Linked DNA regions of Homo sapiens: regions 1, 3, 4, 5, 6 and 7 are each linked to region 2. The links are contacts of gene promoters, found by promoter capture Hi-C in blood cells and fetal thymus (Javierre and others, 2016). All regions are on one chromosome and are shown on one strand. The core of a region is centred on a gene start or on the middle of the fragment in contact, and the rest is flanking DNA. Distances in the headings are between cores, read along the strand shown. Region 1 overlaps CLEC1A (C-type lectin domain family 1 member A). Region 2 holds the start of CLECL1 (C-type lectin like 1). Region 3 holds the start of LOC105369655 (a long non-coding RNA gene). Region 4 overlaps OLR1 (oxidized low density lipoprotein receptor 1). Region 5 has its middle 17 kb from the start of CLEC7A. Region 6 overlaps CLEC9A (C-type lectin domain containing 9A). Region 7 has its middle 6.9 kb from the start of LINC02367.

Region 1 (3,769 bases), core at 528-3,027, 350 kb after region 2:
TCTAGCCTCAGCCTGTCAAGTAGTGGATTATCTTTTTGAAGATATGGCAACCAACAAAGGAAAGTATGCACACTGGGCTTTGTTAGAAAAATTTGTAAATAAATGCTGGGCACGGTAGTTTACGCTTATAATCCTAGCACTTTGGGAGGCTGGGGCAGGGGGAACACCTGAGGTTGGGAGTTCAAGACCAGCCTGCCCAACACAGTGAAAACCCATCTCTACTAAAAATACAAGAAAAAATTAGCTGGGTGCAGTGGTGCACACCTGTAGTCCCAGCTACTCAGGAGGCTGAGGCAGGAGAATTGCTTAAACCTGGGAGGAGGAAGTTGCAGCAAGCCGAGATCGTGTCACTGCCTTCCAGCCTAGGCAACAGAGTGAGACTCCATCTCCCCCCACCCCCAAAAAAAGGAAAAAGAAAAATTAGTAAATAAGGACATTATGACCATTGAGGTCATTAGTTATGTAGGAAAGAATCACTTAGAGAAGTAAAACTGTGCCTATTAATATTTTCTCCTGCATAGCCATGCAATCAGGATGTCTGTTTCAGGTGGGAAGTGGTGTGTGTATAGTAGATGAGGAGACTTTGCCCTCCTTCAGAGTTCCTAAAAAAGAAATAAAAAGTGGAAACCTGAACATGTATGCCATTTCCTAAGTAAGCATGATAAAGAGAGCAGAAGAGAGAGCTGACCTGAATAAAGTGGATTATCACAAAACCTGAAAAGAATAGGAGAATAGGAATACACATGCACTCACACTGAAGCGATGCTCCTAGACTTCTCCAGCAGTAATTTTATCAACGGTGGTTCACCTACCATTGGCACTGTCATCATCTGTGGTCCTTATTAAACTGCATATTTTTGATACCCAGCCAAGTTATCCTGAATTAAAATAACTTGAATTTGATTCAGGTTATCTGCATTTTCAGACTAGTCCCTGTATGTTGTTTAAGATTTGAGAACTATAGTTATGAGTTTGCTTACTTCTTACTAGGAAAGAATTTGTAAGAACATTTGCCGAGGTAAATTGAGACATACCCCTGTATTTTCTTTACTCGTAGTCTTATTTTGGTTATTCTTAGTTAATTGTTTTTATTGTTTTAAAATGTCTGCATTTGAAGAGTCCCTTGATGCATGGTATCACAGACACATATGAATCACATGATCCCAACAACTGATCATGATCTTGAAGCCCAAACCCTTTTTCAGTTTGCCAGACCTCTAGTTAAATAATACTTGACTCTCACTTTCACCGGCGGGAAATCCATCTCTCTGTTTCCAGACAACATGGGGACAGAGTGACCAGGACACACTTACCTCCAGCTTTGTTATACAGCTCACGACAGAGTTTTTCAGCCACATGCTGCAGACTTCCTGCAAGCTTTATATTCTGGACTTGAAGAGATTGCAACTCTTGGGACGTATTTCCTAATCTTTCTTCCATTTGAGAAATGGTGTCTTGACCAGTATTGGAGAGCTGGTAGTACTGAAAAACTAACCCAAATGACCAAGTCAGACTGGACAGCTTATTTCTATGTTTTATTTCCATTTTCTGCTTATGGGGAAGACAAAACAGTATATTTTTTAGTATCTCAGGCTCTGAGTTCTCATATTGCCTATATTCAAGTTTGGACTCTAGTACATATATGAGAAGTTGTATCACCTTGGGCAAATTAATTTCTTTAAGTCTGTCTAAAAATGTGAAGTCATGAGGAGAAAATGACGGCTAAGAGGGCTAAGATAGAGCTCCCATTTGGACAACAGAACAGGGTGAGGAGACTCACACTGTGAACTTTTCCTCCAGGAACCACCTCAGGAACATACCAGGAAAATTGAAAGAATGCACAGATCCTTTGAAAGAAGCAACTCAATACTGAAAATTCTGGAAGACAGCCAAAAATGTGTGAAGTGGGGAAAACCCACCTCTGAACACACATCCCTAATGGGGAACCTGAAAATCTGGGTTACATGAGAAGGATTTAACCTCACCTGGAGCAGAAATGGATGTAGGGAGCCAAATATAAAATAGATGCAAAATATAAAAGTAGAAGAAGCAGAGGAAAGAGTCCTGTAGGCACTCCCATTCTCCAGCTCAAGCCCAGGGAAGCCATCCCTGACTTTGTCTCACAGGGGTCCTTGGACAAGGCAGCCAGTGGAATTAAAGAGGAGACACAGGATGAAAGAAGCTTCCAAATGAATTTTGTAATAATTTCAACTGGATATGAATTTTCTTAAGCAGAATCCAGGGGGCAAAGAGGAACTGCTACAGATATCAGCACAGGAACTGTGACAGATGGTGTGGGAAGGTGGGGAGCGGCGTGGCCTGAAAGCCTGCTTGCTTTCTCAGTGGGAAGGGTTGTAGCCTGAGGCAAGTTCAGAGCCCCAGGCATGAGCTGCCAGGATATAAACTTCGTGGTGTTGGTGGGGCATGGGGGGAGCAAGACTTGCATCACCAGCTATGTGGGAGCTGGGTAAGGCCTATCACTGCCAGCTTTCTCCCACTTCCCTGGTGACCTGTATGACACAGCAGAGGCAGCCATAAAATCCTGAGAACCAACCCCCATCCCCCACAGGATTCATGACAAGCCCCGTCCAAGGAGAGTGGGAGCTCAGACCTGCCTAACCCTGATCCCATGTGATGTTTTTTCTCTATGCACCCTGGTACCCAAACACAAAAGACATAAACTTGGGAGCTGTATGGCCCCACCCATCACCTGAGAAACCTGAATACTCATCCTGGCAAACTTAGAACAAGCTTACATCCCGTGTCTACTACTGCAGCTGGTGCTCTCTTTAAAGCACCACCTCCTGGCTGGAGGCCAACAACTCAAACCATTAGAGTAACTCAAGACAGAATAACCCTGCTCCAAGGAGGGAGAAGACAACAGCTAATTCCACTGCCTGCAACATCCTGGCTAACCAGAGGTCCTGAGTGCATCCATCTGACAACTTCACTGCTAGCATAACCAGCATTCAAGGAAGCCAGCACACTAAACAGCACACTAAACATATCTACAACCAAGGACTCTCACACAGTCTGCTTCACCTCCTTGCCAACTTCACCAGAGCAGGTGCTGGTATCCACAGATGGGAGACCAGAAGATGGATCATATCACAGGACTCTGCAGACATTCCCCAGCACCAGCCTGGAGCCTGGTAGCACCACTGGGTGGCTAGACCCAGAAGAGAATAACAATCACTGCAGTCTGGCTCTAAGGAAGCCCTAGACCTAGGGGAAGGGGGAGAGCACAACATCAAGGGATCACCCCATGGGATGAAAGAATCTGAACAGCAGCCTGTGTGTTCCAGATCTTTTCACTGAAATACCCAATAGACCCAAATGACAAGGAAACAGAAAAATAATTCTGGTAATATGACAAAACAGGATTCTATAGCACCACCAAAAGGTAACACTAGCTCCCCAGCAATGGATTCAAACCAAGAAGAAATCTTTGAATTGCCAGATAAAGAATTCAGAAGGTTGATTATTAAGTTACTCAAGGAGATACCAGAGAAAAGTGAAAACCAACTTAAGAAACTTATTTATGGTTTTCTTTCTTTCTTTTTGAGACAGAATCTCACTCTGTTGCCCAGGCTGGAACGCAGTAGTGTGATCTTGGCTCACTGCAACCTGGATCTACCTCCCAGGTTCAAGTGATTCTCCTGCCTCAGCCTCTCAAGTGGCTGGGATTACAGGTGCCCACCACCATGTCTCTCTAATTTTTATATTTTTTGTAGAGATGGGGTTTCACCATGTTGGCCAGGCTGGTCTT
Region 2 (4,185 bases), core at 29-2,528:
AAGGCAATTAAACCCTGGAATGCGGAATCAAAAATATTGGTTTTGTTGCTTAAACTGAGTAAAATAACCTCTAGAAAAAGAAACTAACTACAGGACATTTTTGAAGCATAGGGGAATGACAGTGCAGTTCTAGTCCATGTTATTTTTCAAATTATGTTTCACTATTTCATAGGAAGTGAAAGTGCCTAAGCTGGAAGAAAAGAAAGCAAGTTAGCCTCTGCTGGGTAAAATAGAGAGGTAAGGTTTAAAATAAGAAACAAGATGCTTTTACAACCAGAAAAGGACACACACTAGATTCCTTTGATAACTATAAACTTTTGAAAATATAAAGAAGAAATACATTCCTTGGAAATACGAACAAAGTAGCAGATTCATTCCACAAGGGCAAATACAAAGGAGGAACTTTAAATTATTTAAAACACCTACATAAACTCTATGCTACAAAAATTCTTACCCTAGAGCAGAGAATGGAAATGTAACAAGACAGAGAAATTTCCTTAATACTTCAAAGAATAGAAAAGACACTGGCTATGAAAATCTATAATTTTTGAGGGGGTTTGGTGATGAAGGCACCATGTTAAGTTTAGGCATATGCTTATCGCCTCTGATTCCAGAAATATTCAATTACCTAGTCATTAATTCTAGACTTTATAAAATTAAATCTAACGTTTCATGTTTTCTTAAGTTTACATTTTTATCCTATTGATATTGTAAAAGAATAAATAACAATATGAGTAAATTGCCACAGGTATTTTTCCCAGTGGAGATGAATTTATCACATTATGTTAAAAGGTCAGATTTGATTGAGAGTGAGCAAAGCTGTGGAGCAGAAAGGCGTGATCCCGCTAGAAGTTGCTGTGTGAATATAAACATTCATCACGAGAAATCAAGAAATAGAAAGGCTATGAAAACAGAAGCAAAGTTCTACATATTAAAACCAAAGTGGCAATTTATTTTATGAACAGACATTTTGCTTCATTAAAAACATTCGCTCTTATTCTTAGCATTCAATGAATTTTGCTTTGAATCCAATCTCCTCTTTTCAGTTTGGCAATTAGATACATAAGAAAGAAATAAAGGAGATAACTAGTAAAATCTTAATTCTCAAAGGCACCCTAAATCCAGCTTACCAGATCTCTGAAGTGGAAACGCGAGTTCTAACGGGGAAGTCCGAACAGTTTTGATGTCAGCGTAGACTACATCTCCAGCCATTGCACAGATCAAAAAGAGAGAGAAGACCACAAATGATGTCCCACTGAAGGGACAATCATATTTCTGCAAAGAAACTTCTGATAAGTAAATTGAGATGGCAAATTTCCTTCTGCTCCCCAAGTGGGTGGTGGACTTCCTCCATGAATAAATGACAAAACCAATGTGTTCAGTCTTACTAATCAAGGTAGCAGATTTCTCGAATACTTGTATGACATGGAAGAAATTACTAACCATACAGTAGGTTCTCGTTTTTCAGTTAGTTTTCTGCCTAAACTTGAAATGCTTTTAACTTTTATTAATACCACAGAAGATATCTCACCATTTTCTCCTATAGACCACTTCCTCTTTTAGTTCAGGCATATATTCTCTGGCGGAAACTCTGAATTTCCAGCATCTTCTCCAAAGTAGGATAGCTATTTGGGAAACAGAACAAGAAAAAGAAGGGATTTTATTACGAAAGTTACAGAAAGGGGCCCTATGTCTTTTATCCTCCTCTCTAAATGCATTGTATTGTCTAGATAATACCTTAAAAATTCTGAAAGCTATTTGCTTTCCTGTATGCTTTATAATATTAACATTAAACTGAGGTAAAACATGAATTATGCAGAGGACTTCTGAACTAAAAAATATATATTTAAGAAACAGAAATAACTCTGTTAAAATAATTCAAGGTAATGACATAAAAGAAAAAAATCTAATTTTAAAATGAGGTGTTCAGAAATTTACTATCGAATACAACATAGCAAACATAGATTTTATCTCCTATTTCTTCTAAAATTCCACTAAAATTGAATTAAGTGAATAAAAATTTGTTAGTCTAAAACAATAACACAAAGGCTCAGGGTCCTATTAGTTGATGAAAAATTTCAACTAATTCCTGGAAAATGGAGAGTAGATGGAGATGTGATCATTGATGAAGAAGTAAAATCAGAGAAAAATGCAGCCAACACCATACAGAGGGAAATAATGGAGGAGAGCCTAGCTACCTGTGAAACCGTCATAGGACATAGAAATGTCAGATATGAAAAATGGCAGGATCCATTAGCTTATGACTAGTAGATTAACTGGAAATCTGCATATGGAAAAACTGGTTTTTTCAATACCCACTCAAGTGCATTCTGCAGAATTAATCTAAACTGCAGTCACCCCATCCCTACCCCTCATCCAAGAAATTTAACTTAGGTTAATTAAATAACTAGAGAACAGATCCTGGCTTTGTGGCATTTAGGGATCCCTCCTATAAAGACCAACTTCTGACCCTGGATGAGGCTTGAGCACCGACCTCTGTCTCTTAAGACTGCATGACACTCTCTCCCTTTTCTGGGCTGTTCCAACTGTTTGTATGTGACTAGACAATACCTACTACATACATGAAAAACTGACTTTTAGAGGTTTTATTATCTGCAGGTGGTTGCATAACCAATAATTTTTTTTTTTTTGAGACGGAGTCTCACTCTGTCACCCAGGCTGGAGTGCAGTGGCGCGATCTCGGCTCACTGCAAGCTCTGCCTCCCGGGTTCATGCCATTCTCCTGCCTCAGCCTCCCGAGTAGCTGGGACTACAGGCGCCCGCCACCACGCCCGGCTAATATTTTGTATTTTTAGTAGAGACGAGTTTCACGGTGGTCTCGATCTCCTGACCTCGTGATCTGCCCGCCTCAGCCTCCCAAAGGCATAACCAGTACATTTTAAGAGTGATAACTGAGTTCTAAGTCCATGCCATAATTCAACTATGCTGTCTAGATTTTGAGGGTAAGACTCACATTTTATTATTTTTATTTTCATCACTTAGTTTTGTGTGAAACATAACAGCCGCTCAGTAATTATGTGTTGAATTACCAAATCAGTTATGCTATGCTGAATGTTATAATTAGGCTATAACAGTTTTCCAGAATGAGAATAATCATTTTTCACTAAAAAGTAGACTTTTATTCATATGAAAAATATGACTGATGGGCCGGGTGCCCTGGCTCATGCCTGTAATCCCAGCACTTTGGGAGGCCGAGACGGGCGGATCATGAAGTCAGGAGCTCGAGACCAGCCTGGCCAACATAGTGAAATCCCATATCTGCTAAAAATATAAAAAATTAGTCGGGCGTGGTGGCGTACGCCTGTAATCCCAGCTACCTGGGAGGCTGAGGCAGAAGAATGGGTTGAACTTAGGAGGCAGAGGTTGCAGTGAGCTGAGGTCGCGCCATTGCACTCCAGCCCTGGAGACAGTGCAAGACTCCGTCTCAAAAAAGAAAAATATGACTGATGATCTAGTCATATAAAAGTAAAAAAATTACTAGCATGTAGAGTATTAAAAGAGTGTTAAAAAATTAGGGTAAGTATGTCAATTTCTGCCATGAAAAAGGCAGCTGGGATTCAGCAGATCAATTTTGGGAATAGTGCAAACTGAGTAATATTCATTTTTTCAATCCATAAATACAGAATCTCTCCTTTATTTAGATATTCCTTAATCTATTTCAGAAATGGTTTGCATTGTTCACAGAATAACTCTTACACTTCTGTTATTAAACTTATTCTTTATTTTATTATTTTTGATGTTATTGTAAACAAAGATTTTTCTAAATTTCATTTTTGGATTGTTCATTGCTAGTCTGTAAAAGCACTATTACTATTTTATATTGATTTTTATCCTGTAATCTTGCTGAACTTGTTTATTACCTCTAATTTTTATTGCTGTTGTGAATGTTTTAGGATGACATGATATGCAAGATCATGTTATCTGCAAATAAAGACAGTTTCACTTCTTCCTTTCGTATTCTTGTTTTATTCCCTTGGCAAGAAACTCCAGCATGATGCTGAATAGAAGAGGTGAAAGCAGATCTACTCCATCATTTTCACCAATATCATCCCCAGGTTGGGTTATCAAGGACTGGCTTTGCAGCATCAGGGCAACGAGTCCTTGTTATGTACAGCGCAAAGACTTAGTTAATGAATTCAAAATCACTAATGTTTATTTTTACAC
Region 3 (4,294 bases), core at 49-2,548, 380 kb after region 2:
TAAATAAACAGAGGTAAGGGAGATGAAGAATGTAGGGAAAAAGGGTTGGTAACTTTAAATAGTTATGTGAGTAAGCATCATTAAGAAGGTCATGTTTGTGCAGAGATGGAAACGAGGTGAGAGGCCAGGCCCTGCAGCTTTGTCGGGTAAGAATCATTCAGGCCGGGCGCGGTGGCTCACGCCTGTAATCCCAGCACTTTGGGAGGCCGAGGCGGGCGGATCATGAGGTCAGGAGATCCAGAACATCCTGGCTAACACAGTGAAACTCCGTCTCTACTAAAAAATACAAAAAAAAATTAGCCAAGCGTGATGGCGGGCGCCTGTAATCCCAGCTACTCGGGAGGCTGAGGTAGGAGAATGGCGGGAACCCGGGAGGCGGAGCTTGCGGTGAGCAGAGATCGCGCCACTGCACTCCAGCCTAGGCCACAGAGCGAGACTCCGTCTCAAAAAAATAAAAGGATCATTCAGGTAAAGCAGATAAGAATCACCAATACCTTGAGGTGGAAGCACGCCTGACATGGTTGAGAAACAACAGAGAAGCCGGCGTCCTGAGTGCGGTGAGTAAAGATGAAGGAAGTAGGAGATTAGCTCAAAGTTAAGAGGGCCAGAATATGTAGCGTCTTATAGATAATTACAAAGGTATTTCTTTTTTATGTTGCTTTGTTTTTACTCTGAGATACATGAGAAGTTGATGAGAATTTTAAGTGGAGAACCGACATGATTTTATTTAAATTTAATGGTCTCACTCTGATTTGTTTGAAAATAGACTGTAGAGGGTGAGGGTGAAGGCTCAGAGACGACTTCAAAAATTATTGCTATAAGCCAAACAAGTGAACATGGTGGCCCCTGAGCATGTCCTCTGGTGTGACCATTACTCATCTCGAATTTAACTTTCAGACTGAGGTTCGGCTAGCAGCTATTTCACCTTTTCTGTCTCTTGGAAAAGTGTGGATGTTTTCTGTCTCTTGGAAAAGTGTGGATGTTTTCTGTCTCTTGGAAAAGGGTGGATGTTTTCTGTTTATTAACGTATATTTCCATATAAGCTGTGATATAAACGTGTCTCAACAGGTCAGGTACTGTATGTCTTGCACAACGTAGAGCAATCTTACTTTACACCGTCACTTTCGTGATACCCACGTCATGGGTTAGGTTGCCTGGCCTGTCTGTTCACTAGATTAGTACAGCTGGATCTTCAGCATCCAGTTATTTACCTTGATTACCATAATTTCTTGGAGTCATCCACTATATCCTGGGGACCCAGGAGGAATGAATCAAAACAAAACCAAAATTAAAATACTAGATATCTCTTCCAAACTCCATCCTATGCTTTAACTACTTAAAACAGTTAACCATACTCCTCATGTTCTCAGCCTGATCTATCTCTTCCCTTTCTTTTTTTATGTTTATTATACATTACATCATTTATTTATTTATGTATGTATTTTTAATTGTACTTTAAGTTCTGGGATACACGTGCAGAACGTGCAGATTTGTTACATAGGTATATATGTGCCATGGTGGTTTGCTGCACCTATCTATCTCTTCCCTTTCTACATGTTTTTAAGTAATGAAAACAAATTTGCATATTAAACAACAATAGTAAACCTCACAAAGATCTTTATCTTCTCTTAGGTTTTTAAAATTTTTAAGATCGCGAATTAATGCTTTAATATCAAAATATCTACTATAAATATCCACTCCACCCATACCAAATTCATCATCATTTTTGGGGAGAGGGCAAATTGTAATAGTGATTGTGACACACAGGCACATAATTTAGAGGCCATGGGTTTTTTGATAAGAGTTTTTTTTTATTGAAATGAAATCCACATAACATAAAATCATCCATTTTAAACTGCATAATTTAGTAAAATTGGTACAATTTCTTTTCACATATTAATCAACATTAGAGGACTGTAAATGCCTCCCTAGTAATACAGAAATATCCATTGGAAATAAAAATAGCACCAGTGGGAAAGTATGAAAAAAATAAGACAAATCAGCACATGAGGAAATATAGTTTCATTCCAATAATACCATTTTACAGTAATTACTGAAAAAAATGGTAAAAATTGTAAAACAGTACATCACAAAACTAATAAAACATATTCCAAAATGTTAATACTTGTTCCAATGAGGTTGGTTACTTTTTTATATTCATCATCAGATTTTATGTATTTTTATGTATTTTTGTATTTAAAAAGCAGAAAACTTTCCTATGAGAGCAGTTTCCCTACAATTACATATTATACAAGATTCTAGGCTGGGTGCAGTGGCTCACGCCTGTAATCCCAGCACTTGGGAGGCCGAGGCAGGCAGATCACTTGAGGTCAGGAGTTCGGGACTACCCTGACCGACATGGAGAAACCCTGTCTCTACTAAAAAAATACAAAATTAGCCGGGTGTGGTGGTGCCTGACTGTAATCCCAGCTACTTGGGAGGCTGAGGCAGGAGAATTGCTTGAACCCAGGGGGCGGAGGTTGCGGTGAGCCGAGATCGTGCCGTTGCACTCCAGCCTGGGCAACAAGAGCGAAACTCTGTCTCAAAAAAAAAAAAAAAAAAAAAGATTCTATTAGAGATATGGCAGATGTACTCTCTGAGCTATTTAATTGATAAAGAAAAAGTAGGAGTTCCTGCTTTTTACTAAGATGATAATCATAATTATGATCATACTGATGAAAATAATAAAATTGCTCTGACTGTGGTGAAGATTTTTTCCCATTTCTTCATTTAGCTATTCAGAAATATATTTCACCCTCAGTTCATAACTGATATACTGCTAGAAGTTGAGGGTCAAATCGTGGCAACACACCGTGCACTTCAATGGCATTGTTGAGCATGAAACAACTCTGATAGAGCCAGAAATTAAGATTCGCTTATGGCTTACCCAAGGTAAATGCCAAGTCAATGGCAGAATGAAAATTCAAGCTTGGGGCCAGGTGTGGTGGCTCACATCTGTAATCCCAGCACTTTGGGAGGCCAAGGCGGGCAGATCACTTAAGCCCAGGAGTTAGAGACCAGCTTGGTCAACATGGCAAAACCCAGTCTCTACAAAAAACACCAAAAATTAGCCTGGCATGGTGGCATGCACCTGTAGTCCCAGCTACTTGAGGGGCTGAGGCGAGAGATAGCTGCAGTGAGTCGAGATTGTGCCACTGCACTCCAGCCTGGGTAACAAAGTGAGACCCTATCTCAAAAAAATAAATAAATAAAAAATAAAAACTCAAGCTTGGCTGCCCTGATTCCATGTCTAGGGATCTACTAACTAGAAAAATAATACTAGCCTACCTGTAGGTCGACAAATACAGAAATCACAGCCTCTCCCTTCAATTTCTTGGTTAAGATTACAGTTGGCCAAGCTCTCTAAACATTTTCTGCATTTATCTTGACCTCAGCTGTTACTCTTTTCTGTTCTGTTTTCTGTCCTCCTTACTACCTCACATATTTCTCTCTCCTTCTCCACCCTTCCTCTTACATTGAAAACTTCTTCTCACAAATACTATATGAGGGCACACTACACAGTTGGTCATAAATGACTGACACGTGAATCCATACACAATTTGGAGATGGGTTTTCTTGGGTAGCTGTGGTTCTGATCTGAAATCTGTTAAAATAGAATACAGTGAGGTAATTAGAACAAATGTTAAGGAATACTGTCTACATGGCGCACAAATAAATTAGTAAGGATATTGGTGAAAAGAGTTCTGAAGTGTTTCTATTATTGGAAAAGGAGGCTTAAATCTAAATTGTTGTGAATCTCAAGTGGTTAAATGAATAGTCTCCATTATTAAGGCAGAAAAACGACTTAATTTTTTTTCAAGAACTGCTACTAGCTGCATAAACTAAAAAAAAAGTTCCTGACAAAGAAGAAAAATCATTTAATATTCTATAAAAAGTTCTTTATATATCTTTCAGCCTATTACTTAAATGTTTCTTTATCAAATCAAGTAACAGTTTAATTAAATTATTACTGGATATACTTAATGAGTAGACCAAGCAGAAGCATTAATGCTAAAACAGATCTAGAACTAAAAAGAGAATCAGAGATGCCCAGGCCATTTAAAGGCAGGGCAAACAACTCTGTATATTTTAATGTATCCTGGAAGCAGAATTATATTACAATACAATGCTTGACAGTTATGGAAATCAACACTGCTAAATGCAGGCATGGTCCTGTTCAGTTTGGTCTTCAATCTCCTTAAGTAGCAGTGTTAATGAGTCAAGCTCAAAGAGCATCACTGACCGTCAGTGCAAAAGCTATGACTTGGCACTCTTTGTCCTGGTTATGTATCTC
Region 4 (3,796 bases), core at 644-3,143, 430 kb after region 2:
GAAACAGGGTCTCGCTATGTTGTCCAGGCTGGTCTTGAACTCCTGGCCTCAAGCAATCCTCCTGCCTCAGCCTCCCAAAGTGCTGGAGTTACAGGCATGACCCACCACACCCGGCTAGTTTGCATTAAGATGTACTATAAGTGTAAAACACACAAAAGATTTTGAAAACTTAATTTGAAAAAGAAAAAGAATGTAAAATAGTCCATTAAAAATTTTTATACTGATTAGTATTGAAATAATATTTCAAATATCTTGGGTTAAATAAAATGTGTTTCTAAAATTAATTTTATCTGCTTCTTTTTCATTTTTATGTGGTTACTAGAAATTTTAATGATATATATATATATATATATAAAAAACACATACTATATTTCTTTTGTACAGAGTTGTTCTAGGGAAAATAGTATATTAATATAAAGCGAGGATCTCAATTTAAACGAGATTTTAGAAAATAAGGAGATTTTCAGTAGCAAAATTCACAGGGAGTCCACCAAACCAAAAACAGGACTTAGACAATAGGCAAAATATACCAATGTCTACATGTTTATGGATGCTTTCAGGAACCCTCAAATCATCACTATCATCACCATCATCATCATCATCTCTCCCATCTCCTTAAGGGGAAACAAAGTACTCTGGTCTACACTACAACCAAAAGGTGAAAAATTAAAATCTTTGAGAAAGGCAGCATTTTAATTTCATTCTCACTGTGGCATAAAACCACTAAATAAATGTATAAGAGTAGGCTTTATCAGAGAGGAGAAAATAGGAGGGACTGAAAAACAGAAAAAAGTGAATGAGAAAGAGCATACAAAACACTAAGTTGATTTTTCACCAAACTGATGCTTATGAAAAGAAAAAGAGACCAAGTTGAAAGCAGTCAATGCAAGCTTCTTACTTCTTAGTTTGCCTAACCCCATCATATTATGTAAATATAAATATATGTACGTTTTTGGCTGGGGGTGGTGGCTCATGCCTATAATCCCACCACTTTGGGAGGCTGAGGTGGGTGGATCGCTTGAGGCCAGGAGTTCCAGACCAGCCTGTGCAACATGGCGAAACCCCATTTCTACAAAAAACACAAAAATTCACTGGGTGTGGTGGTGTGCGCCTGTAGTCTCAGCTACTTAGGAGACTGAGGTGGAAGGATCACTTGAACCTAGGAGGTGGAGGTTGCAGTGAGCTGAGATCATGCCACTGCACTCTAACCTGGATGACAGAGGAAGACTCTGTCTCAAAAAATATATTTAGATGTATATAAGTTTTTTGTGGACTAAAAAGACAGTCTGGGCAAGTTTTCCCAGTTATGACAAAGTAAGAAGGACACATTACAAAATGTAGTATTTAAACTTACTGTATTTCTTTGTGTGTGTGTGTGTGTGTGTACACAAAAATAAACAGAGTAAGTGATATTTGTGTTTGTTAAATTATATAACAATACAAATATCACTTACTATGTTTATTTTTTATATAATTTAACAAACACAAATATCACTCACTATGTGCCAGAAACTGTTGGAAGTACTGTACAGGTATTAACTCATTTAATCCTCACAGTATCTCTGTGAGATAGGTTCCAGTCATTTTCTTCATTTGACAAATAGAGAAGAATCTGGACCTAGATAATGTAACTCTAGAGTCTGGGTGTTTCACCACTATAACATACTACCTTTCAAACTTCTAAGTTAAAACCATTTGAGGAAGTGTTTCTCGGTGCTGCTCTCGAGACATTTTGATACAGAATCTTGAGGTAAATCTGTAATCTGCCACTTTTAACAATCTATTTACATACAGTAAAGTTTGAGAATCACCACAAATTCCATTGCTAAATGTGAAGTCTATTCCTGCAAAGGCCCTGCATCTCACTAGCTCGTTGGCCTAAAGCAAACATATAATAACCTCTCAGCATCTCTCCCTCCTCATATATACATTGAAGACCACAGACTTTTTAGTAAAAAAGATAAAACTTGCCTCAAACTGGAAAAACTTGGCTTTTTTTTTTTTTCTGTATGTGGTATTTTAGTATTACTTTTTAAAGACTTCTCAAAGCTCTTTGGTGGGCCGGGCCTGGTGGCTCACACCTGTAATCCTAGCACTTTAGGAGGCCAAGGTGGGTGGATCACGAGATCAGGGGTTCGAGACCAGCCTGACCAACATGGTGAAACCCCGTCTCTACTAAAAATACAAAAATTAGCTGGGCGTGGTGGCAGGCGCCTGTAATCCCAGCTACTCAGGAGGCTGAGGCAGGAGAATTGCTTGACTCCGGGAGGCGGAGGTTGCAGTGAGCCTAGATCGCACCACTGCACTCTAGCCTGGGTGACAGAGCGAGACTCCGTCTCAAAAAAAAAAAAATGCTCTTTGATGAAAGGCAAAACTTTATTTGCTATCTCTACTAATTAGCCTTTATCTGACACTGTCAAGGAATGGAACATGTTACTTGGTATATCTGCCAGCATCAGACATATCACTTATTGTTTTTTATTAGTTGTTCATCCAGGGCATCTCTGGGAGATAGTTCTGAATGGTCCTGATGTAGATTTAATCCCATACAACTGATAAAGACAAAATTCTCTTCTGGCCTTGCCTGTGATATAAACCATTGGTTAGTACGTGGTTATGTCCGCTTTTATAAACATTCCTATCCTTAATAGATAAACTTTCTCCCTTTAAGCCTTCTTGAAGGTGGTATATTCATTTCCTTGCAAGCTCCAACTTTAAAGAGATTAAAAATGTTTGACACTTGCTAAAAATTATTTTGTTCAAAAATTTCTGCTAATTTTGAAAATGTAAATGACCTCTAAATAGTGAAGGGATTTACAAACTGCAAAACCTTACACAAAATTACTTTTTATTATCATTTCACTTTATCCGGGTCTCAGTGTTCCACCTATCAAGGAAAAGCTTAGGTATCTGTGAACTATTATTATATGCTCTTTATTCAAATAAATTATGTGGTTGAGATTAAGTAAATTGTGCAAGCAAGAAGCTAGAGAGATCTCTGTTTATTAGAGGAAGTTTTTCTCTAATCCTGACAATAGGGCACTAATTTACGCACCTCCAAGGAAACAAAGTACCTCTGAATGACTCTCTCTCACACCTTTTAACTCTCCCTATGCCTAAAACCATATACCTGATGTAATGACATACTGCAGAAAGACCAAATAATACAGTAGCTTCTGTAACAATATCAGAGTTCACATCATAGTCTTCTTATAGATGCTACTATTTCTGCCTGCCTCTGGATTCTGAGTCCCTTTAGACGGCTAAAATTAACTCATTTCTTCTTATATAAATAGACTTCTTGGACTCCTCATATTTTTGTCTAATCTGAAGTATCTGCGTAAGGCTTGCAAGCCAGTCTACCTCCATTGGCTCTATTTAAATTGATGGGCCCGGCACAGTGGCTCACACCTGTAATCCCAGCACTTTGGGAGGCCGAGGCGGGCGGATCACCCGAGGTCAGGAGTTCAAAACCAGCCTGGCCAACTTGGTGAAACACCATCTCTACTAAAAATACAAAAATTAGCCAGGTGTGGTGGCGGGTGCCTCTAATCCCAACTATTCGGGAGGCTGAGGCAGGAGAATCCCTCGAACCCGGGAGGCGGAAGTTGCAGTGAGCCGAGAATGTGCCACTGCCCTCCAGCCTGGGGGACAGAGCGAGACTCCCTCTCAAAAAAAAAAAAAGAAAATTGGCCGGGCGTGGTGGTGGGTGCCTGTAATCCCAGCTACTTGGGAGTCTGAGACATGAGAATTGCTTGAACCCTGGAGGCGGAGGTGGCAGTGAGCCGAGATCAGG
Region 5 (3,940 bases), core at 666-3,165, 410 kb after region 2:
CCTGTAGTACTTGGGAGGCTGAGGCAGGAGAATGGCATGAACCCGGGAGGTGGAGCTTGCAGTGAGCCGAGATCGTGCCACTGCACTCCAGCCTGGGCGACAGAGTGAGACTCTGTCTCAAAAAAAAAAAAAAGAAGGAAAAGAGAAGGAGAAAGAACAGAAAGTAATAGAAAGGAAAGAAGGCAGGGGGAAGAGAAGCGGAAAGTAAGAGAGGGGAGGGGACGGGAGGGAAAGGGCAGAGCAGAGCATTAGGTTGCTGGGAGATAATTTCTAGCGCCTAATACGCGTGTATTAAATCCCTTAACAGTGTGTGGGAGTGGGGTAGAGGTTGGAGCAGAAAACATATTTGAAAAAATAATGCTTAACATTTTCAAAGCTAATGAAAAATGTAAAACAATAGATCCAAAAGCTAAAGAACTCTGAATACAAGAAACAAACAAAAAAACTTCACCAAGGCACATCATAATAAAAAATGCATAAACCCTGTGACAAAACGAAAATAAAATATCTAACAAAAGCATAGATAATTATGTACAGAGAAACAAAGAATGATAGAATATTTGTCATAAGAAATAATACAAGTAAGAAGACTGTGGAGTAACATTTTTGAAGTATACAAAAAAATCTGTCAGCCTAGCATTCTACACCCAGTGAAAATATCATTTAAAAGTACAGATGAAATAATAATGTTTTCAGACATCTTAAATCAGAATTAATCACAAACAGAATTTCAGTAGAGAAAACATTTAAAAAATTCTTCAGGAGGCCGGGCACGGTGGCTCACACCTGTAATCCCAGCACTTTGGGAGGCCAAGGCAGGCAGATCACAAGGTCAAGAGATCGAGACCATCCTGGCTAACATGGTGAAACCCTGTCTCTACTAAAAAATACAAAAAATTAGCCAGGCATGGTGGCAGGTGCCTGTAGTCCCAGCTACTTGGGAGGCTGAGGCAGGAGAATGGCATCAACCTGGGAGGCGGAGCTTGCAGTGAGCAGAGATCGGCCACTGCACTCCAGCCTGGGCGACAGAGCGAGACTCCGTCTAAAAAAAAAAAAAAAAAAGGAGGAAAAAGAAATAGGAAATAGATCAAAGGAGACAAATTGAAAACAAATATCAAGATGACAGACTTAAGTATAATTAATCAGAATTTCATTAAATGTAAATGTTTTAAACACCCAAAAGAAATTGTTAAATGATGTAAAATAGCGAGCCCAAATGTTATGTCAGCTAAAAGGAATATACTCGGTTTAAAGACAAAAAAATAGGTTAAAAGTAAAAGGATAAAAAAAGATATATCATGCCAATATTAATCAAAGAAAAGCAGGAGTGGCTGTACTAATTTCAGACTAATAGATTTCAGAACAAACATTACTAACAGGAATAAAAAAGTTTACTTGGTTAGAGGTCAGTTCATCAAGAGAGAATGAAAATCCATAATATTTATGCCTTGATTATCAGAGCTTTAAAATATACAAAGCAAACCTGATAGAACTACAGGAGAAGTAGACAAAATCATAATTATCATCAAAGGTTAGATACTCCTTTTTCAATAATTGATATGATAATAGACAAAAAATATCAGCAAGCATATAACAGACTTCAACCAGACTGGGGATGGTGACTCATGCCTGTAATCCCAGCACTTTGCGAGGCGAGTCAGGTGGATCACCTGAGGTCTGGAGTTCAAGACCAGTCTGGCCAACTTGACGAAACTAAGAATACAAAAATTAGAGGGGCATGGTGGTGTATGCCTGTAATCCCAGCTACTCGGGAGGCTGAGGCAGGAGAATCTCTTGAACCCAGGAGGCGGAGGTTGCAGTGAGCCAAGATCGCGCCACTGCACTCCAGCCTGGGGGACAAAAGCGAAACTCTGTCTCAAAAAACTATATATATATATAGCCGGGCATGGTGGCACATGACTGTAATCCCAGCTTCGCAGGAGGCTGAGAGAGGAGAATCGCTTGAACCCGGGAGGCGGAGGTTGCACCCGCGCCACTGCACTCCAGCCTGGCCGACAGAGACCGAGACACCTTCTCAAAACTAAATAAATAAATAAAGACTTGAATCAAATTATTGTCCGCATTTATTTGATGTACATTTTAACAACATTCCATCCAACGACAACAGATTACATATTCTTTTTAAGTGTACATGGAAAATTTGCCAAGATAGATCATATTTTTGGCCATAAAATGTCTCAATAAATTTAAGGGTTTAAGTCATTAAAAATGTTTCTTCTCACATGGAAACTAATAGTATAATGATTTCTGGAAAATTCCCAAGTATTTGGAAATTAACACATTCTAAATAATCAATGAATCAAAGAGGAAATTTGAAGGGAAATTAGAAAGTGTTTTGAACTGAATAAATGTGAAAAATTACCATACCAGAATCTGTTGTATACCACTAAAGCAATATTTAAAGGAAAGTTTAAAGCACTGCATGACTATATAAAAAAGAAGAAATGCCTCAAATTAATGAACTCAGCTTCCATATTAAGAAACAAGAAAAAGAAGAAATTAAAACCCAACTAAGTAGAAAAAAGAAACAATAGCAATCAAAGTAGAAATTAATGAAATAGGAAACAAAAATATATAGACAAAGTCAATGAAACAAAGAGCTTTTTTAGACAGCAATTTCAACTTTTATTCTAGATTCAGTGGGTACATATGCAGGTTTGTTACATGGGTAAATTTCATGATGCTGAGGTTTGTAGTGCAGATCATTCTGTCACCTAGGAAGAGAGCATAGTACCCAATAGGTAGTTTTTCAGCTGACATTTCCCTTCCTCCCTCCCTCCCCCTTCTAGTAGTTCCCAGTATCTATTGTTCTCATTATTACGTCCATGCGTACTCAATGCTTAGCTCCCACTTGTAAGTGAGTACATGCAGTATTTGGTTCACTGTTCCTATGTTAATTCACTTAGGATAATGGCCACCAGCTGCCTCCATGTTGTTGCAAACAACATGATTTCATTCTTTTTTATGGCTGTGTAGTATTCCATGGTGTATATGTACCACATTTTCCTTATACAATCCACTGTCAATGGACACCTAGGTTGATTCCATGTCTTTGCTATTGTGAATAGTGCTGTGATGAGCATACGAGTGCACGTGCTTTTTGGTAGAGTGATTTATTTTCCTTCAGATATATATCCAGAAATGAGATTTTCAGATTGAATCATAGTTCTGTTTTAAGTTCTTTCAGAAATCTCCAAACTGCTTTTTATAGTGGCTGAACTAATTTACATTCCCACCAACAGGGTATAAGCATTCTCTTTTCTCTGCAGCCTTGCCACCATCTGTTGTTTTATGACTAATAATAGCCATTCTGACTGGTGAGAGATGGTGTCTCATTGTGGTTTTAATTTGCATTTCTCTAATGATTAGTGATGATGATCATTTTTTCATATGTTTGTAGGCCGCTTGTATGTCCTCTTCTGTGAAGTGTCTGTTCATGTCCTTTGCCTCTTTTTAATGGGGTTATTTGTTTATTGCTTGCTGATTTGTTTAAGCTGCTGCTGCTGCTTCTTTTTTTTTTTTTTTTTTTTTTTGAGATGGGGTTTCGCTTTTGTTGCCCAGGCTGGAGTGCAATGGTGCAATCTCAGCTCACTGCAGTCTCTACCTCCCAGGTTCAAGTGATTCTCCTGCCTCAGCCTCCTGAGTAGCTGGGACTACAGGTGCGTGCTACCACACCTGGCTAACTTTTGTATTTTTAGTAGAGATGGGGTTTCACCATGTTGGCCAGGTTGGTCTCGAACTTCTGACCTCAGGTGATCCACCCACCTTGGCCTCCCAAATTGCTGGGATTACAGGTGTGAGCCACCACACCTGGCCTAAATTTCTTATAGATTCTGGATTATTACACCTTTGTCAGATGCATACTTTACTAACATTTTCTCGTATTCTGTAGATTGTCTAATTTCTCTGTTGATAGTTT
Region 6 (3,876 bases), core at 1,077-3,576, 310 kb after region 2:
TTCTAAAGAAAAGATTAGGAGGAGTAAGAGTAAGGTTACTAGTGGCTTAAGCTTTTAGAAATAAGCAGTCAAATGTGACTGTCACACAATAGCTCCTGTGGAATGCCATTCTGAGTCTTTCATATCTGTCAAGAACCTCAAGTCACTTCCTATTTGCCAACAATGCATTCTCACTTGTTATTTTGGGAGGTGTGAGAGTATATAAACATTTGTCCTCCATTTAATTTTCCTACTCATATATTGATTGATTTACCTATTCCTTCATTAATTCAACAAATATGTGCTGAAACTATTCCAGGACTTGGACCTATGCAGTTAATAAAACAGAAAAAATAATCCTTAAGCTCAAGGAGCATAGATTTTAATTGAAGCAACAGCCAAGAAGCCAAACAAATAACATACTATACAGTATAGTAGGTAGTGATTATTGCTAACTAGAGAAAAGTAAACCAGGAAAGGTAGATGTATGTTATTAATAAATCCCTTTGAGAAAGACATTATGTACTCCTTTACTCAACTAAAACAAATTAATACTTCTATAGGGAACATTTTATAGGCAAGCTAAGCAATAAAACCAAACCATGTAGAGTTTTAAATCTAAGGAATATAAAGCTCACCAATAATGTATTTCTTTGTGTTTTCTTTCTCTGTTCACATTTATTCCTTTGAGTCATGTTTGGTAGTCTGAAAGTATAATCCTCAATTGATTGAAGATATAAATATATGTTATAAACACATAGGAACATTAGAATTTCAGCTATTTTGTGTACAATTTTACCTGCATCCTACAAGCTTTTTTAAGTTCTAAGACAAGTGAAATTGGCACAGATTCAAATATCAAATGAAATACATTAATATAGACATGTAATCCAACTTTTTTTTTTGTCCAGGGTCTTATCATAAAGCTTTGTCTTTATGTCATTATCAACAGCTGTGGAGGGATTCTGACCATTGTGTTTATTTATGTTTACAATAGGAATACATCAAAGCCAGGACTGGTTTAATTCATTGGGTCAGATTATCCCACCAGAACTCTAATGAGGTCTGTAAGTGGGAGATGGCTCAGTTCTCTAAAAAAATATGTAAGTCCCCGACACTCAGAATAGAAAGTAATACTAGAAACTTATTCTTGAGATCCGCTCTCATCTCAGTCCAAGTCACTTAATAATTGAAATGTGTCTCTATAACCTACTATGGGTTATATAATCAGCAGCTGAGTCACTTACTCCCTACTTCAAACAAGAGAGCACTGGTCATAAGACAATTCTACCTTCCCCTCTCCCATTCTTAAACTCTTTATCTAAGCCACAACCCATTTTTATACCTGATATTATTCCCATTCATTTCTATATTAATCTTTACCATGGAACAGTGTGTGTGTGTGTGTGTGTGTGTGTGTCTTTAAATTGCTCTGATTCTCTGCATATATATGTATATATATATATATATATAGACAGAGAGAGAGATGGAGTCTCGCTCTATCACCAGGCTGGAGTGCAGTGGTGCGATCTTGGCTCAATGCAACCTCCACCTCCTGGGTTCAAGTGAGTCTCATGCCTCAGCCTCCTGAGCAGCTGGGATTACAGGCACGCGCCACCACACCAGCTAATTTTTGTATTTTTAGTAGAGATCGGGTTTCAGCATCTTGGCCAGAATGGTCTCCCTCTCCTGACCTCATGATCCGCCTGCCTCAGCCTCCCAAAGTGCTGGCATTACAGGCATAAGCCACCGCGCCTGGCCCTCTCCATATATTTTTTAAACAAAATTTCATCCTTATTTTGTTACAGTTGAAAGTTGTAAACTTGAGAGTCTTTTGACTTTTCGGTGGCATTTTGCCTACTCTTCTATCCTTCAAGTCTCCAAGAATTAGATACATTGGGGTTCACAAGATAATTCCAATGTCCATTAGTGAAGCTCTATCCTTCTACACATGATGCAGGCAAATAGGCTGTTAGCACCAGGTTGTGAACTTTTGTCACTTCCTATGTGGTTTTCCAATGTCCAGTCTCAACATCTTTTGTCCATCCTATATATCAAAACTGCAGTCTCTCTCCAATTAAAATGTAAATGGATAACCAAATCTTGTACAATATGATCATTACTTGCACCATTAATTATTTAATAAATATTTAGGAAGTATTTACTATAGGTAGGATCTCAGGATACTACAGCTACAACTCTTCACAGACCATGGGCTTTATCTCCTATTACTTGCTGCCTCATTCACAATATTGCAGACAAATTAGTGGGGTTTTTTTTATTCTTCCAACAAATCAAACTCGTTTTTTTATCTCAAGACTTTTGCATTTGCTATTTTCTTCTCCTAGAATGCTCTGCCTCCACAACTCCATGACTGTTTCCTTCTTGTGAATCAAGTCTCTATTTAAACATCACTTCTTCAATGAGGCTAAGTCTAATTACCCAAACTAAATTAGCTTCCCTTCAGCCCACATCCACACAGTCTACCACTGTTTTGTTTCTTTGTAACTTTACCACTGTCAGAAATTTTCTTGTCTATTTGTGGGCTTCTTACTGGCATCACCCCACTGAAATGGAAGTTCCCCAACAGGAAAGCCCTTGGCTTTCTTGCCTTTCTGTACCAGTCTATCCTCAGCCCATAGAACAACTTTGTCACATAGTTATGTAGATATATGCCAAATAAACTAATAAATATATATTCCTTGTCCTCTCGTGATAAACGGTCTAGAAGAGAATAAAGATAAGTTAACAGCCATTACAATACAGCATGCTGTCTTAGATCATCTATCCTGTAACATAAATCCTCAGCTCAAAAATATTGAATCAACTCACTTTTCCATGAACCTATTCCCATCCATTGCAGATACTTGTCCTGTCCATCTCCTGTCTCCTGTCCCATCCATTGCAGCTCTTTGTCCTGTTCATCTAAATCCTGCCCTTCCATCAATACCAACTAAAGTCTGATCTTGTAGATAAAGCCTTTTCCCATTATTTCAGAGCTATCTCAATCTCTTCTTTGGGGCTCCTATTGTACTAGTGTTCCCTTGCTCCTTAATCTTATGCTACATGAAACTGCTACTGAGCTTTTCAGATATACATACCTTGTACTACCAAGCAGGTTGGGAGCTACTCAACAATGAGAAACTTTTTTTTTTACTGTTTTCCCCAGAGTCTCCATTTTGTGCATCAAAATACTATACACAGAGTTTGATTGTTGATTGTTTCCTTAGTTTTTGAAGGAATTTATTCTACCTTTCCCATTCACAGGTTTGGGCTTTCTGAAGATGGAAAAGGAAATATGAATTGTGCCTATTTTCATAATCAGAAAAGGCACTCTACCTTCTGTGAGAACAAACATTATTTAATGTGTGAGAGGAAAGCTGGCATGGCCAAGGTGGACCAGCTACCTTAATGCAAGGAAAGGGGCAGGATATCACAGATAAGGGCTTTATTGCCCAATAAAAGTTCTGAATGAAGAAATCAATAGCCATAAATTGGTTATTTCTTCCTTTCTTCCTTTGATGTCATTTTTAGTATTATCTTTACTACCAGAATCACTTACCTACTCCCTTCTTTGAATATCCAGAACCCAACATGTAAATTGATCACTTGCTTCTCAATCATTCTACTTTCCCTTAATTTTCTTTCTTCTTGTCTAATTTCTAATTACCTGAATATAATATGATTTACTGCATCTTCATATATACACATATAAGATTAAAATCAGGACAATATAGATTAGTGCTTAATTAAGTTGGGCAAAATATCGAAGCTTAAAATGTGTGCAGAATATCTAAGTTTGAAAGATAGCGTGACGTAACAAAAAGAATACTAAACTTGGAATTGGTAGAATAATTTAGATAATGTCACTTAAAGTACAATCATGAACAAGTCACA
Region 7 (3,761 bases), core at 1,262-3,761, 370 kb before region 2:
TGATCCCTTTACCATTATGTAATGGCCTTCTTTGTCTCTTTAGATCTTCACTGGTTTAACGTCTGCTGTATCAAAGACTAGGATTGCAACCCCTGCTTTTTTTTTCTCTCCATTTGCTTGGCAGATCTTCCTCCATCCATTTATTTTGAGCCTATGTGTGTCCTGCACTTGAGATGGGTCTCCTGAATATAGCACACTAATGGGTCTTGACTCCTTATCCAATTTGCCAGTCTGTGTCTTTTATTAGGGGCATTTAGCCCATTTACGTTTAACATTAATATACTTGTGTGTGAATTTGATCCCGTCATTACAATGTTAGCTGGTTATTTTGCCCATTAATTGATGCTGTTTCTTCATAGCATCGATGGTCTTTACAATTTGGCATGTTTTTGAAGTGGTTGATACAGGTTGTCCCTTTCCATGTTTAGTGCTTCCTTCAGGAGCTCTTGTAAGGCAGGCCTCATGGTGACAAAATCTCTCAGCATTTGCTTGTCTATAAAGGATTTTATTTCTCCTTCACTTATGAAGCTTAGTTTGGCTGGATATGAAATTTTGGATTGAAAATTCTTTTCTTTAAGAATGTTGAATATTGGCCCCTACTCTCTTCTGGCCTGTAGAGTTTCTGCTGAGAGATCTGCTGTTAGTCTGATGGGCTCCCCTTTGTGGGTAACCCAACCTTTCTCTCTGGCTGCCCTTACCATTTTTTCCTTTATTTGAACCCTGGTGAGTCTGACAATTATGTGTCTTGGGGTTGCTCTTCTCGAGGAGTATCTTTGTGGTGGTCTCTGTATTTCCTTAATTTGAATGTTGGCCTGCCTTGCTAGGTTGGGGAAATTCTCCTGGATAATATCCTGAAGAGTGTTTTCTAGCTTGGTTCCACTCTCCTTGTCACTTTCAGGTACACCAGTCAATTGTAGATTTGGTCTTTTCACATAGTCCCATATTTTTTGGAGGCTTTGTTCATTTCTCTCTTTTCGCCCCCGGGTTCTGCCCAGGGTGGCCTGATGGAAAGCCCCGACATTAGAATGGGAACCATCCCTTAAAACCTGTCTTTTCCAAAAGCCAGTTTGAATTTACATCTTTAAAATCTCCAAAATATTTATTTTACAAGGCAGGAGCTGTGCCCCAAAGCTTGTGGCAATTGGGGACCTAAGGTTCCTTGAAATCACCTGAGTGTGGAAGTGGTGATAAGGTGCTAAAGAGATGATCTGAACTCACCAGGCTGATGTGGATAGAATGGGAGGCCCCAGTTCTGTCCCTCCATCCCTGAGGCCCCTCCCCAACCTCCCTGGACCCCCTGTCCACAGAGGCCGTGCTGTGTGCCAGCCTCACTCCTGCATTCTGGAGATGCCGTTCCAAGATGGAGGTTCCCTCACACCTTCCCCCACCCAGCAAACTCCATTGGACAGATCCACACCAGCAACAGCTTCACAGCTAGGCCCTGGAGGTATGGAGCTCACAGACCTCCCACTAACTAAGAAAAACACGGTAGAGAGCCAGAAGGGTGGCAGGTTCCAACAGAGCCCCCACCATGTCCCCCACCCAGCCCCCCATCCGACCCCTTCCCTCCACCTGGACTCAGCACCATCCTGAGTCCCTGCGTGAGAGGCACGTTGAGTTCTATGGAAGAATAACAAAAGTGAGAACAACTGGTACAGTTGCCATGAGGCCCTGGATGCCCAGGGGACTGGAGGCTTTGACGGCCTCTGACTCGGCCCCTCTCGGGGGATCCTGAAGACTATGGGGATGTTTGCCTCTCCACACACACACAGCATCCCATTCCCTGGCTGCCACTCCACACAGATTACCTTCCTGCACCAGAGGTTTCAATATTTCTTGAAAAGGTTGGCAATTTTGAAATTTTTTTCATACATTTATTCCTTACGATCCACTCCTCTGCTTTCTTACAATTGAGCATTTTGAGAATAATTTAACCTTTTCATCATGACTTGGGGTCCTGATGATGAACACCATTATTGTGTTGAGATGTCATTTCCCCCAGAGTGCAGGGACCATGTCTCAGTCCTCTGTGTGCTCCTCGGCACCTCGGCCAGCCCATGGCGATGCTGTGTGTGTCTGCGGGGTTGCACTGACAGAAGCCAACAGAGGCTCTGGCATAAAGGCTGACAGCCTGCTGCTCTGGGCGGTTCTGCTTTGTGAATATGTGTTCCTTAGTGTCTTTCCTTAGTATCCTCTCTTGCTATCAGTCTATCAGCTCACCAAATCTTGAGGCCCCTCTTTTTATTTTCACTTTTTAAAAATTGAGATATCATTCACCTAACATAAAAATCACCCTTTTAAAGTGGTTTTCATATATATTCACAAAATTGTGCGTCCATCACTACTATCTAATTCTAAACATTTTCATCACCTCCACAAAGAAACCTCATACGCATGGTCAGTCTCCACACTTCTTTCCCCTAGCCCCCAGCAACCACAAACCTACCTTCTGTCTCTCTGGATTTGCCTGTTCTGCACTTTTGCATAGAATGGAATCCTGTGCCATGTGGTCCCTTTATGCACGATATCCAACCCAGAGAAAGGCCTTGCTTCCTAAGCCCTCCTGAGACTCACCAGCCACGAGCCCGCATCTATAGCAAGTTCTTTTGAAGGCCCTCTTTACTGCTGGACATTCTTCCTTTGTGCAACAAGTCAATAAACCCATTTTGGTTCAGCTACAGGTGAGTTCTTGGTGGTTTTTTAGCTTAGGAGGATTGGCAGAAATAGAGGTTCCCTGAGTCAGCTGAAGCCCTCCCCCTTGGACAAGAACCCCCGCCTCAGTTAGGGTGGACACAGCTGAGACATACAGGGTGTCTCCCTCTGTCTGAGGTGCCGGGTGGCCCACAGCTGGAAGGCAGCTCGGGCTGAATGGAGGCTGATATTTCCTTGAGGCCCCATGGAGGCTGATATTTCCTTGAGGCCCCTCCGCTTCAGGTGTGCTCTGTTCTGGGAATGAGGTGCTGTGCGACTTTTCCTGGTGATCTGATCAGATTTGCCCCGCTCCACGGTGAAACTGCTGTCTAGCCTTCTGAGAAATGCTCCTATGTCTATCTGGTGGTCGAATGTTCTAAGCGTTGTCTCTAAGTGGAAAATTCAGTAGTTGATAGGGGCCCGGGAAGTCTGTCCTCAAGCTGGTCTTGGAGGTCACAGTGCTCAGGAGTTCCCCTCAGACTAGCATTCATTGGAATGAGCTTTGCCCCAGGTCACTGTTTTCATACCTAAGGGTGGATTTTCCCCTCAACTTTGTCTCTGTGTGGTTCCTGAGAACTGCTCACTTTAAAGTTCCCTCTGCCTGGAATCAGGAGGATTGGGGACAATCAGCCTGTGGCCTCTGACCAAGCTCTGGAGGCACGAAGTCTCTTCTCGGACTGCTCGGGTGCCCGTGCGACCTTCTTCATCGGACGTGGCTCTTCCCCAGGCCAAACGCCTGCTGCTTTCAGATTTCCTCACTGTCGTGTGAACTCATCTTATGCCTCTGACACAATTTCTTGAGACACCATTTGAAACTGCAGTGGCCGCTCTGGGGAATTTTCACATGAATGAGGTTGTTCGTTTGAGAGGTTCTGTACAGCAAACATGGAAGGAGCCCCGTGAAGAGCTTCTCTTGTGGGACAGAGACATCGATGTGTTTAATGCAGGAGACACAGTCCCTTCCTCATTTGTTTCCATACTTCAGGGATTAATAAGTGCTGGGGTTTTGTTGTACAGATTGATAAAACTGTCGAAGGCCAAGCTGTTGTCCAAAACAGGATAATTTCACT

The links. The method cuts DNA at HindIII sites, captures the fragments that hold promoters and counts their contacts. A CHiCAGO score of 5 or more calls a contact.
Region 1: a fragment that was not itself captured here is called in contact with the fragment with the promoter of CLECL1 in region 2 in 1 of 17 cell types (monocytes); the score reaches 9.4 in monocytes.
Region 3: a fragment that was not itself captured here is called in contact with the fragment with the promoter of CLECL1 in region 2 in 1 of 17 cell types (monocytes); the score reaches 5.7 in monocytes.
Region 4: a fragment that was not itself captured here is called in contact with the fragment with the promoter of CLECL1 in region 2 in 2 of 17 cell types (monocytes and neutrophils); the score reaches 6.5 in monocytes.
Region 5: a contact is called between a fragment that was not itself captured here and the fragment with the promoter of CLECL1 in region 2, in 11 of 17 cell types (monocytes, neutrophils, megakaryocytes and 8 more). The highest score is 11.9, in monocytes.
Region 6: a contact is called between a fragment that was not itself captured here and the fragment with the promoter of CLECL1 in region 2, in 1 of 17 cell types (monocytes). The highest score is 6.4, in monocytes.
Region 7: a contact is called between a fragment that was not itself captured here and the fragment with the promoter of CLECL1 in region 2, in 1 of 17 cell types (total B cells). The highest score is 5.9, in total B cells.

The regions. Positions count from the first base shown.
Region 1 is chr12:10,079,924-10,083,692 of GRCh38, forward strand. It overlaps CLEC1A (C-type lectin domain family 1 member A), which reads right to left. Exons shown (of 6, transcript NM_016511.4): 3 at 1,314-1,490. Among named protein-coding and RNA genes, the nearest start is that of CLEC1A, 17 kb to the right of the region's middle. The HindIII fragment of the contact is 805 bases long and covers 1,376-2,180 here.
Region 2 is chr12:9,731,819-9,736,003 of GRCh38, forward strand. CLECL1 (C-type lectin like 1) reads right to left here and starts at 1,279. Exons shown (of 2, transcript NM_001441815.1): 1 at 1,131-1,279. The coding sequence starts at 1,212. The HindIII fragment of the contact is 6,540 bases long and covers 1-4,185 here.
Region 3 is chr12:10,114,987-10,119,280 of GRCh38, forward strand. CLEC7A (C-type lectin domain containing 7A) reads right to left here. Exons shown (of 6, transcript NM_197947.3): 6 at 1,791-3,604. The coding sequence ends at 3,472. LOC105369655 (a long non-coding RNA gene) reads left to right here and starts at 377. Exons shown (of 4, transcript XR_007063208.1): 1 at 377-557. The HindIII fragment of the contact is 3,256 bases long and covers 1-2,926 here.
Region 4 is chr12:10,161,592-10,165,387 of GRCh38, forward strand. All of the region lies in intron 3 of OLR1 (oxidized low density lipoprotein receptor 1), which reads right to left. Among named protein-coding and RNA genes, the nearest start is that of OLR1, 8.6 kb to the right of the region's middle. The HindIII fragment of the contact is 2,011 bases long and covers 889-2,899 here.
Region 5 is chr12:10,144,926-10,148,865 of GRCh38, forward strand. No RefSeq gene overlaps it. Among named protein-coding and RNA genes, the nearest start is that of CLEC7A, 17 kb to the left of the region's middle. The HindIII fragment of the contact is 6,553 bases long and covers 1-3,940 here.
Region 6 is chr12:10,042,239-10,046,114 of GRCh38, forward strand. The region is part of intron 2 of CLEC9A (C-type lectin domain containing 9A); the gene reads left to right. It also overlaps the pseudogene LOC100421202. Among named protein-coding and RNA genes, the nearest start is that of CLEC9A, 13 kb to the left of the region's middle. The HindIII fragment of the contact is 2,846 bases long and covers 904-3,749 here.
Region 7 is chr12:9,358,726-9,362,486 of GRCh38, forward strand. No RefSeq gene overlaps it. Among named protein-coding and RNA genes, the nearest start is that of LINC02367, 6.9 kb to the right of the region's middle. RefSeq lists an enhancer at 3,363-3,612. The HindIII fragment of the contact is 2,764 bases long and covers 1,130-3,761 here.